Regions from separate parts of the Homo sapiens genome. Here all the other regions are linked to region 2. The links are contacts of gene promoters, found by promoter capture Hi-C in blood cells and fetal thymus (Javierre and others, 2016). All regions are on one chromosome and are shown on one strand. Each heading gives the region's core, a stretch centred on a gene start or on the middle of the fragment in contact. The rest is flanking DNA. Distances are from core to core; before and after follow the strand shown.

The links. The method cuts DNA at HindIII sites, captures the fragments that hold promoters and counts their contacts. A CHiCAGO score of 5 or more calls a contact.
Region 1: a fragment that was not itself captured here is called in contact with the fragment with the promoter of STK32B in region 2 in 1 of 17 cell types (M2 macrophages); the score reaches 5.2 in M2 macrophages.
Region 3: a contact is called between a fragment that was not itself captured here and the fragment with the promoter of STK32B in region 2, in 1 of 17 cell types (M1 macrophages). The highest score is 5.6, in M1 macrophages.

The regions. Positions count from the first base shown.
Region 1 is chr4:5,658,756-5,662,698 of GRCh38, reverse strand. The region is part of intron 9 of EVC2 (EvC ciliary complex subunit 2); the gene reads left to right. Among named protein-coding and RNA genes, the nearest start is that of EVC2, 48 kb to the left of the region's middle. The HindIII fragment of the contact is 3,023 bases long and covers 465-3,487 here.
Region 2 is chr4:5,049,936-5,054,005 of GRCh38, reverse strand. STK32B (serine/threonine kinase 32B) reads right to left here and starts at 2,526. Exons shown (of 12, transcript NM_018401.3): 1 at 2,091-2,526. The coding sequence starts at 2,142. RefSeq lists an enhancer at 1,286-1,824. The HindIII fragment of the contact is 3,285 bases long and covers 1,314-4,070 here.
Region 3 is chr4:5,678,087-5,681,874 of GRCh38, reverse strand. It overlaps EVC2 (EvC ciliary complex subunit 2), which reads left to right. Exons shown (of 22, transcript NM_147127.5): 7 at 562-615. Among named protein-coding and RNA genes, the nearest start is that of EVC2, 29 kb to the left of the region's middle. The HindIII fragment of the contact is 248 bases long and covers 1,694-1,941 here.

The DNA of each region.
Region 1 (3,943 bases), core at 727-3,226, 610 kb before region 2:
AATAATTATATTTAATATTATATTTATATTTAATATCAATATAAATATAATTAATATATTATATTTTAATATAATTAATCTAAATATATTTAAATATAATTAAAATAAATATGATTAATATAAATATATATTATATTTAATATATTTAATATTAATATTATATTTAATATATTTAATATTAATATTATATTTAATATATTTAATATTAATATTATATTTAATATTATATTAATAATAATTATTGAATAATTAGTTTATTCAATAAACTATTGAACTAATAACAATTTTTTTATTTATTTTTAACTTTTAAGTTTAGGGATATGCGTGTAGGTTTGTTATATAGGTAAACTCGTGTCACAGGGGGTTTGTTGTACAGATTATTTCATCATCCAGGTATTAAGTCTAGTACTCATTAGTTAAGAGGGAGAGAATCTGAATTGATTCTGAAAGCTTATGAAGAAGCTTTCCAAGTTGATTAAGCGTGGAAACGATTTTCAGACAGAGGAAAGAAAGGGCAGATGTAAGGACGTGAAAGGAGCAAGGTGCGTTTGGTGAGATGTCAGTAGCCAAGTGTGGCTGATGTGCAGATTGGGGTATTGAGTATAGAAAATAAAGAAGAGGCAGCAGGGGAGAGAGGCCAGACCAGGTGATGTGAGTGTGTACTGAACTGAATTCAGTTCTTCTTATGTAGTTAATGAATATTAACATCATCCTCCCTATGTGCAATAGCAGATAGTGCCAGACACTGTTTAAGAACTTCACAGAACTAACTCGTATAATCCTCTTAACAAGCCCATGAAGTAGGTATTGCTCTCTGTAACATCTTATGGATGAGAACTGGAGAGAGGTTAAGTAACTTGCCCAAGGGCATATACTAGTAAATGATAGGGTCAGGTTTTAAACTCAGGTCATCTGCTCCATGGTCCAGGCTTTTAATCATTGCCCAAGATTTCTCCTGGATGGACACATGGGTCACAGTCTAATAGATAACCTTAACTAGATGAGGTTCATCAGCATGGCCTTGTCGTTCCTTCTTTCCTTTCATCAGATATTTAAGATGACTTCTTTATGTTTTCTTTAATTTTCCGTTGTTTTGGCCAAAAATCTCAATCTTATTTTTTTATTTACTCTCAAACAAAATTATTTTGAAGTGTCTGACTGAAGACGTTATTATCTGTACCCTCGTTCTGTGTCTGTTATCTAGAGTACCACTCAGTTTTTGATCATATTTTCTTGTCTCATATCTCTGTGTATTTTTGATTATGTGCTAGACATTGTATAGGAAGTTGAGAAGACAATCTGAGGACGAGGGTGATGTTATCTTCTTCTAAGTGGCTAGCAACATAATTATGGATTATATTAATCCAGTCAGAGATTGAGATCATTCAAAGCTGGGCTTCATTTCTCCCAGATCAAATTCTTATTTGGTTATATCTGATGATTTTTATTTTAACATTCTTTGCTTTCTTGGTAGACTGCTGATGATTAATAATGGGGCCAAATGTGAACCCTTCAAATTGGATTCCATTTACAGGAAACTTTTTTTATTCTAGATTAAAGATGTGTGGCTTTCTGCCCACTCACTACCCACTGGAGGGTAATTTGTGTGAATTTGGAATCATCAAGATGACAATAAACTGTAATGCCTTATGTTTTCAGATAAAATACCTTATGTTTATGTCACATTTAGAAATGTGCACACCCCTTATTTAATTTGGTGCTCATGTCACGCCCCTTATTTAATTTGGTACTGCTTTTTGGTATGGCATCTTATTTTCAGTGTTTGATAGTTGAAGCAGCTGAGGCTCAGCTAGGCTGAGAGGTTTACCCACAGTGATACATCTGGTGAGTGAAGAATGGGACTTGAGCTTCCTCACTATTTAGGCTCAGGCACATTTATATTTTACAGACATTCTCTGAGCCTAGTTTTCTCATCTCTCAAATGGGGAACCCGTAACCTAGAGCCTTTTGATACTGTCATGTGTAATGATGTGAAAGAGACTTGTGATGGGGATGCATCCTTATGGTGATAGCTGCCTGTGAGCCCTGGTCAGATTAGCAGACCATAAAGAGAAGTGGTCAGGGCGAGTAGCCCTTCCTTGAGTCTTTCTCAAGAGAATTGAAAGCATACTGAAAATGGGAGATCTGGGAAGCAAAACTGAGCAGCTTCCTGATCCTATCTCCCTGGGTCCAGGAAGTGGTGTCCTGTGACACAAAGAGGTAGATCCTAGGTAGAACCAGAAACAGCTCTGGCTCATCCTTTTCAGGAGCAACTACTTAACTGGCCTGAGAGAAGAGCTCTGCTAGGTCTGACTCATGCCACTTTGTGAGCTCAATGACTGTTCTCAGAAGAAAGGGACTCTCCTCTGTTTTGAATGGGTGCTCCTTCCTCACAGAGTGCCTGGTGAAGAGCCAGGCTTGGAGCCTCGTAAGTGCAGGGCTGACCTTGCACCAAGAGGGGAGTCAGGGCTTGTTAATCCATTTCTGGGTGCCAGAGTTGTGTGGCTTGGTTAATTAAGCCTTGTGCAGCCATCCAGATGCCATTCTTCATTTTCACTTAACTCCCTAATCAGAATGGCAAGGATTACAAATTAAAATTTGCCACCTTGTCTGAAGTAGTAGGGAGAAATGGACGAGCAATGGGAGACGAAGTTATTGGCAGAGGTTCATAAATGTCACTTATTATATTAAGTGATGTGAGCAGCTAATTATCAAATGATTTCAGAGCTAAAAGTCTGTTTTCTTACAAAACATGAAAATGAAAAGTAGAGTGAAATGATTTGGATCATGCAATCAGCACCCGGATATTTAATTTGCAAGTATGTGGTACTCTATAACCTTCTGACTAAAGTAATTAGTACTTTAAAAGAGGAAAGTATTAATCCTCCTGTTTTTGTTTTTTATTCAAAAAGTGATGGGGCATAAGAAGCCGAGTCTTTCTTTATCCCTACATTATATGAAATTATAAGCAGCTGCTGCAGTTTGCCAGTCCTGATGCTTGAGTACAATAGGAATGTTGAAGTTTATAATGATTTTGTTCTTGCACCTCTGGAATTATATATTCATTTCTCTTGGGAGCTTGTCTTATTTTGCCTGAAGAGTGTTTAGCATTGATTATCAAGCATGCACGGAGAGTGTTCAGCTTGTGAGCTAAATTCATTCCTCTCTTCCTCTCCCCCAGCCTCCCATCCTCCCTCCCGTCCCAACATTCAATATTTATTGAACTCCAATTCAGTTTCAGGCATTGTGGTTGGACACTAGTTTTAAGAACCCAGTCTTTTTTTTTTTTTTTTCAATTATAGCATTGCCAATTACTTTTAATCTTTCCATCTTGCTCTGTGGTCCTGCTTAGATGCTCCCAGAAAGAAAATGTCACTCAGAATGGCAGGAGCTTAGTATGCATGGAAATCTGTGATACACTTCCCACTAAAAATAGCATTTTTCTCTGGCAAATCAGTTATCGCATTTGTAATTCTAACATGAAGCTTAGCTGGGATTCGAAATATGCCATTACGTGACTTGATTGCCCCCTCATTTCAAGCCCCATGAGAGCTGTAACTTTGCTCTATCCTGCCGAGTTATTTTTGACAAAGAGCATTTCCGAGGTGTGCGTGGTGGTTTATCTTTTACATTGCTTATTCATAGGCTGTCTCTTACAGAGAGGATTTGAGGAAGGAATATTTCCTTTGATTTTTATCAGGCTCCTTGACTGTGGTTATAATGGAGGTGGACTCAGTCTCAGCACATGCTGGGACCAGGAGGAGGGAGGAACTGGGCAGGACTGGCTGGTCCTGGAAGCTTCTAGGGGCATGGAGTGCCGAGCATGTTTTAGCTCCAGCCTTACTCTGGGCCTGACCACTGCCACACACCTCTCGCCTGCGATCTTATTTAATTCTCACAACTCTCTCGTTTTAGACCAGGAAGCTGGGGTTCAGAAAGATTT
Region 2 (4,070 bases), core at 1,277-3,776:
TATTTATTTATTTATTTATTTATTTTGAGATGGAGCTTCACTCTTGGTGCCCAGGCTCGAATGCAATGGTGCGATCTCAGCTCACTGCAACCTCCGCCTCCCGGGTTCAAGCGATTCTCCTGCCTCAGCCTCCTGAGTAGCTGGGATTACAGGTTCCCGCCAACATGCCCGGCTAATTTTTGTATTTTTAGTAGAGTCGGGGTTTCATCATGTTGGCCAGGCAGGCCTCTCCTGACCTCAGGTGATCCGTCCACCTCGGCCTCCCAAAGTACTGGGATTACAGGCATGAGCCACCGCGCCCGGCCTCATAACCTTGTATTTTAACAAGCACCGAAACAGGCAGTTAACCTTAGGCCCAATCTGCTTATAGAATAAGGAACAGGAACAGGAAAATCAAAAGGTTGGCTACACCAGAGATAACTATTTTGCCAATGAATATTTTCAAGCTGGGGATAAATGACAGAGACGGTTTTCAATATAAGGGTGGCAAATTTCCTCTGTAAATAAAAGAGAAAGATGCTAGGAAAATTAGCAAAAGCATGACCTTTGACCCAGGCTAGAACCACAAGCCCGTGCAATTGAGGGTGATGCTGCATAGTGTTCAAACTCTTACTGGGACATGCAAGAGCCTCCATTACCTCTGTGCCCACCTCTCCTCTGTCCACAACTGGCTCCTTACCTGCTCACCTGCACATGCTCCAGACTAAAGATCAGGAAAAGCTGGGGCCTCTCTGTGCCCCCAAGACCCTGCACTGGTTTCTCAATGCCCTTATCACCATGGACGGTCATTCAGGGCCATTAGACTAGGAACTCCTTTAAGGAAGGCTCTCGTGGGCCTGACACAGCAGGTGCTCACTTAACCTTGACTGTGTTCATCTATCTTTTTGAGAAGGGCTGTCCAGGCAGGCATCTGAGTAGCACTCACAGCCTTGGGAGTTCTAGAAGCCATCCATGATGTACGCACACAGCCAGTGCCCTGGGTAATGATGACAGGCACAGCTTTCAAAGCAGACTGTCCTGCCTCAAGCCCAGCTCTACTTCTTACCAGCAGTAACCAGGACAGACCCCTTTCTAAGGTAGCCACCTCAAGGGGCATGAAAAGGATGGAGTGAACACTATGTGCTAGCATGGCTGGAACATAGTAAGTGCTCAGTATGTCTCAGCTCTTACCTGGGGCACAGTGGAGACTGGCGAGTCAGCACAGTAGGAAACCAGCTTTGAGAGGCAGAGGGCTCTTAACATAAAAAACGGCACAGCTCGGTACTGCTTGCATTTATAAGGCACTTTTCACGTGGATTACTAGTGGTTAAGCTTCAAACAACCCTATAAAGTAGCTAGTGGTATCATAACTCACATTTCATTGATGAAGGGACTAATGTTTCAGAGAGGTGAAGTAAGTTTTCCAGGGACACGCTGCACTGGAAAGAGGGTTCTGCTAGTCCAAATAGGGAGCTCTATCGACCTGAACCGCAAGGATCCAGCCAGGAAGTTGAGATGCGGTTGGACAGCCTACACCACTTCTGCGCCAGGGGGAGGCTGCCCAGAACAGGACGCCCTCCTAGGAACCACAGAGTTTAGCAAAGAAAAGTTTCCCTCTGTCCTGGGTGATTGAGGAGAGCTGCATCCAACAGGCCCTTGCACGAGACCAAATGCGTCGTGGGCACGCGCACACACACACAGACACACGGTGCAACCCGCCCTTCCAGGCCACCTCCGTCAGCCTCAGGCTCTCAAGGAAACCTCGGTTTCCTGGGGAGCCCGAGCCTAGAACCATCCCGACTGGCCTCCGAAGTCAACTCCTCCCTTCCACACCCCCAAGTGCAGGTTTCGGGTTCAACTCTCTGAAGCCGCCTCCCCAGTCCCGCGCTAGGCACCGTCCCGACTACTAAACGGCACTGGGTACCTAGGAGTTGCCTCAGCAGAAGCGCCGCGCCTGGCACGGGTCGGGCACACACTGCATTCGCTGGGCGAAGTGGCCATGCCTGGGTCCCCGCGCCGGGCAGCATGCGGTGCCCCGCAGGGCTCGGCCGAGGGTGGTGGAGGAAGGGGATGCCCCGCGAAGCGGGAATTCGCACCTCTCGCTCTCTTACCTTCCTCATTCTCGTCAAACACGGGGGGCTTGTGGGAGTGGTTCCCGCCCATATTCCGCCGTTGCTGCCGCTGCTACATGCCCGGCCGCTGGGATGCCGGATGCGGGATGTGGGACGCGCGCAGAGATGCGGGATGCCGGGGGCGCGCCCAGTCCGGGTTGTAGCCGCGCGCGGAGCCCGAGGGGGCCGAGCACCGTGCAGGGGCGGGGACGGCGTCCCCCTTCTCCTGGACGCCCTTCCGACTGCGCTCGCAGGGACCCCGCTCTCGCCGCGCCTTCCGCCGTGCCCCGCCTCGGGCTGCGCTCGCAGCTCCTTACTCCAGTGCCCGCCCGGGAACCCGGGAGCTCCTCGCGCCGGGGCCAACGTGCGGCGCTCCTCGCCGGCTACAGCGGGCGGGAGACGCGAGGCGGCGCGGGAGCAGGGGAAGGAGGGGAAGGAGCGGGGGAGGAGGGGACGGACGAAGGCAGCACGCAGTGGGCGGCGGCAGGGCGGAAGGAGCTGAGAAAGGGATCGGCCCGGAAGAATCTGAATCCCTGCTCGGCCCTCCTCCCTCGGCCGGGAGCTCGGTCCCTGCAGGCAGTAAGCGGTTTGTCAGCACCCACTATGGCCAGGCCTCGGCTACGCGCTTTGTTAGCACCATCCCACATCCGCCTCCGACAACCCAGCAGTAAGAAAGCATCGTTCATATTTTAGAGCGCAGTAGACGGAGGTCTAGAGGTAGAGGGGCTCTTAGGTCTGTGGTTAGTCGGCCCCGGCTGCGAAGGGAGTCCCAGGACTCCCCGCTAGCCTGTATTTGCCCATTCATATTGGGATGGGCAGTGGAGTGTCTGCTGGCTCTCCAACCGACGCTGTTCCTCTTAAGGTTTTTCTCAGTGTTTAATGAATGAAAGTATCTGTTTACTTTCTGACCCCTTAAGATTAGATACTAATCTGACCCCTTCATTGTACATGGGGAAACTGAGGCCCCAGACAGCCATAGTTTGCCCCAAACCATTCTCCCTGGGAATGGCTGGGCATGAGTCTCGGGATTCCCCCAAAATTGGGCGGCATCGGCGTCCGATTTAGGGGCGAGGCTAGCATGAGGGTCCCTGGGCTCCTGCGGCGGGAGCCTGGATCGGGAGATACGCGCCACAGTTGCGGGTGCCTAAGTAAGGGGTGCGGCAGATGCGCCCCAAGACGTGTGGGGCGAGCGCGGGTTCCCAGGACGCTCCCTGAGGGACAGGCAGGTCCCCCTGCCTTGCAGTCCTGCGGGCCCAGCTCTCCGGGACTGCAGGGAATCTTTGGCTACATCCTGCCATCTGCTGGGCGCCTGGAACCACTGTCCGTGCTTTGATAGAAAGCAGGGGTTCTTTGTGACTCTCTCCATCCTATCTCGTCCCCCAGTCCCCGTCCCCTACCTGGTCTCTCTCTCCAGTTCTCTCCCCTTCTTTCTTTTTCTTGGGAGAAGGGTGAGGGAAGCCGGGGAGACTCATACAGAAACAAAACAAAACAAAACAAAACAAAAAATCTCTTAAAGGCAGTGGGAAAGAACTGAGAAGGTCTGAGGCAGGCCCACCCACCATGACCCAGAGCTGGCTCTACCATTTACTGGCAATGTGTCCCACTTTGGAGTTCTTATCTGCAAAGTGGGCTGATTGATATTAACTCCTTGGGTTGTCTGTGAGAATTATATCAGGTAATATTTATAAAAGCAGGCAACAGTGCCCGGCATATAATAAATGATGAATAAATATTTCTTGCCTTTCATTCCACCAACAAGCATACACTGAGTAGCCAGTGTGCAGCAGGCAATGCCCTGAACACAGAGCTGGCCCCTAGCTCAAGAAGCATAGGGCGGAATGTGGACAGGCATGGGCTCTGGGCTCATTCTACCCAGGTTTCATTCTGCTTTGCCCCTCATTAGCCAGTTAACTTGGATAAATTACTTAACCTGTTCTGGACTCAGTTTCTTCATCTGAGTCCAGAAGGTGCTAATAAGAG
Region 3 (3,788 bases), core at 568-3,067, 630 kb before region 2:
ATGTTCTCACGGTGGGTCTTGTCGGTCACCATGCGGTTAGACAGGTGGATACCATGACACACTTTATTTTTCTGTTTCCTGTATCTTCTCAGCAGAGGAATATTAGAGAGCATTAGGAATAGACCCACAGCGGGTTGGGGCTTGGAGAATCAAGTGCGTTTGAGTGAGAGAAGAACACGTGCAGTGCAGTCAGAGCCCAGGATTCCATCTACCTCTGTGAAGGAGGCAGACGCTGGGAGAGTGGAGGTGACCTGCCTTGGTCACAGGCTTGGAGTCAGTGCCCAACCCCAAGCGTTTCTCCACAAGGGCATGCTGCCATGACTTTCTCTGGATGTTAGCGAAGCTGGTGTTTGGATTTCACACGGCCTCCAGTAGAGAGGGAGGGATCCTATCCCCAAAGCCCCTTCCTCCTGATGGTGAGACCTTCACAAGCTCTGACCTGTGCAGCAGTTAGGGCTGATTGTAGCTCCAGGCTTGGAGGGTTGGAAATCGCACCAAATGTTATCCCACGTGTCAGACCCCAAACTGTTGCTGAAAGTGTTTTCTTTTTTCCTTTTCTAGAACAGAACACAGCTGAAAGTGCTTTTTTCCATAACAGCAGAAGAAAACGTAACGGTAAGAGACATGACATGCCCTGAGCACCCTCAGGACACACCTGTGCTGTGTGGGTCCTGCCTGTCCTTGGAGCCATGGGGAGCGGCCAGCTGCTGGCCTTGGTCCCCCAGTTATGCGTTGAGACTGGGACTCTGTGCAGTCTCTCGGGTCCCCCGTGTGCCCTGAGGCTATCTGACTGGTTTCCCTGGATGACCCTCCACCTGGACAAGGCAGGTAGGCCGTGGGCTGGACAGGCTGAGGCTCCACAGCCCGTCTGTGCTACTGTCCAGTCACGCTCCTACCTATCCCCAGTGTTTGCCACTAGGTCAAGCTGCTGGTGACATTGTGTTTTCCCAGATCTTCCCAAAGCCTGCAGTCTGTGGGGCGGGTCTCTCTGCTTCTGCTCTTCACCATAATACTTCTCCATTTCTGTTCTTCAGTTTAATCATTTGCAGCTCACATGTTCACTCACTCATGTATTCACCAAGTGTTAATTCACCAGGTAACAACACTTCACGTTTCTTAAAACTGGGTGCCAAGCATTCTAAGCAATTTACTTATGTGGAATTATGTCATCTTTACCACAGTCTTGTGAGACAGATTCTATTTTAAAATCTCTGCCATTTCAGATGGGGAAACCGAGGCACATTAAAGTCAAGTGATTTGCCCAGTATCCCATGGCTAGAATGTCAGGGTCCCCAACACCCACCCCCGGGTTCGGTGATTCTCTAGGGTGACTCACGGGACTTACATATACAGTCACGCGCCACATAATGACATTTTGGTGAACAGTGGACTGCATATATGAAGGTGGTCCCGCAGGATTACAATGCAGCTGAAAAATTCCTGTCACCTAGTGATAATGTGGTTGTGTAATATCCATCGTAGCATGGTGCGTTTACTCACCTGTTTGGTGATTCTGGTGTGAAACCTACTGTGCTGCCAATCATAACAAGTCTAGCACATACCATTATGTACAAAACATAATACTTGATAATGACACTAAAAGACTATGTTGCTGGTTTACGTATTTACTATACATACTTTTTATTGTTATTTTAGAGTGTATCCCTTCCACTGATCAAATCCGAAATAAGCTTACCTATAAATCAGCCTCAGGCAGGTCCGTCAGGAGGGATTCTAGAATAAGGCATTGTTATCCTAGGAGATGACAGGTCCATGCCTGTTATTGCCTCTGAAGACCTTCCAGTGGGACAGAGTGTCGGGGTGGAAGGCAGTGATATTGATGATCCTGATGCTGTGCAGGACTAGGCTAATGTGTGTCTTAGTTTTTAACAAAAAGTTTAAGAAGTGTTTTAAAAAAATACCTTAAAAATATAGAAAGCTTACAGAGTAAGGATATAAAGAAAGGAACTATTTTTGTATAGCTGTACAGTGTGTTTGTGTTTTAAGCTGTGTTATTACCAAAGAGTCAAAATGTTAAAAAAAAAATTACAAAGGTAATAAAGTCACAGGGAGGGGAACATCACACACTGGGACCTGTCGGGGGATGGGGGGCAAGGGCAATTACATGTGGGGCTTAAAACCTAGATGACAGGTTGATAGGTGCAGCAAACCACCATGACACATGTATACCTATGTAACAAACCTGCACGTTCTGCATATGTATCCCAGAACTTAAAGTAAAATAAAATAAAATAAAAAATAAAAAATTACAGTAAGCCAAGATTAACTTATTACTGAAGAAACCTGCACAGCATATATTTTTAAAATAAATTTAGTGGCCAGGCATAGTGGCTCATGCCTGTAATCTCAGTACTTTGGGAGGCTGAGGTGGGCTGATCACTTGAAGCCAGGAGTTCAAGATCAGCCTGGCCAACATGGCTAAACCGGTCTTTACTAAAAATACAAAAAAAATTAGCTGAGCATGGTGGTGCGTGTCTGTGATTCCAGCTACTCGGGAGACTGAGACATGCGAATTGCTTGAACCTGGGAGGCGGAGGTTGCAGTGAGCCGAGATCATGCCACTGCACTCCAGCCTGGTTAACAGAGTGAGACTCTGTCTCAACATAAATAAATAAATGTAGTGTAGCCTAAGGGTACAGTGTTTCTAAAGTCTATAGTCGTGTACAGTCATACCCTACGCCTTCACATTCACTCACCACTCACTCACTGACTGGCCCAGAGCAACTTCCAGACCTGCAAGCTCGAGTTATGATACATTTCCTATACGAGTGTATTTTTTTTTTTGTCTTTTGTACATATTTTTCTTTTCTTTCTTTCTTTTTTTTCTTAGAGTCTTGCTTTGTCGCCCAGGCTGGAGTGCAGTGGTACGTTCTCAGCTCACTGCAACCTCTGCCTCCCAGATTCAAGCGATTCTCCTGCCTCAGCCTCCCAAGTAGCTGGGATTACAGGCACCCACCACCACAGCCAGCTAGTTTTTATATTTTTAGTAGAGACGGGGTTTTACCACATTGGCCAGGCTGGTCTTGAACTCCTGACCTCAAGTGATCCGGCCACCTCGGCCTCCCAAAGTGCTGGGATTACAGGCTTTGGTACCTTTTCCATACTTGGATCTGTTTATATATACAAATACTTAGTACGTGTTACAGTTACCTACAGTATTCAGTACAGTAACATGCTGTACAGGTTTGTAGCCAGGAGGAATAGACTATACCGTAGAGCTTAGGTGTGTAGTAGGCTAGATCATCTAGGTTGGTGTAAGTCACTCTGTGGTGTTTGCACAATTAGGAATTTGCCTAACAATGCATTTCTAGGAACATCTCTTCCTTGTTAGGTGATGCATGCCTGTAGTTGTACCCACTGCTATGACTTACTACAATGAAAAGATACAAAGCAAAATCAGCCCAGGGAAAAGTTGCATGAGGAGAAGTTTGGAGAAAATCACTTGCAAGTTTTAAGAGTCCTCTCCCAGCAGTCACAGAGGGGATGCTTCATCTCCCCAGCATGAGTTGTGCTAACACATGTGAAGTATTATCTACCAGGGAGGCTCCTTAGAGACTCAGTGCCAGAATTTTCACTGGGGGCTGGCCACGTAGGCACTCTCTGCCTGGCATATACCAAGATTCCAGACTCCCAGAAGGAAAGGAGGTGCTCAGCATAAGCCACACTGTTTGTACAGACAGTTTGAAAACAGAGAGCCACTCTTACCAGAAAATAGTGGAAACCCTCCCAAAATCCATGTTCCCAGACATCAGCTGAGGCCCAGCCCT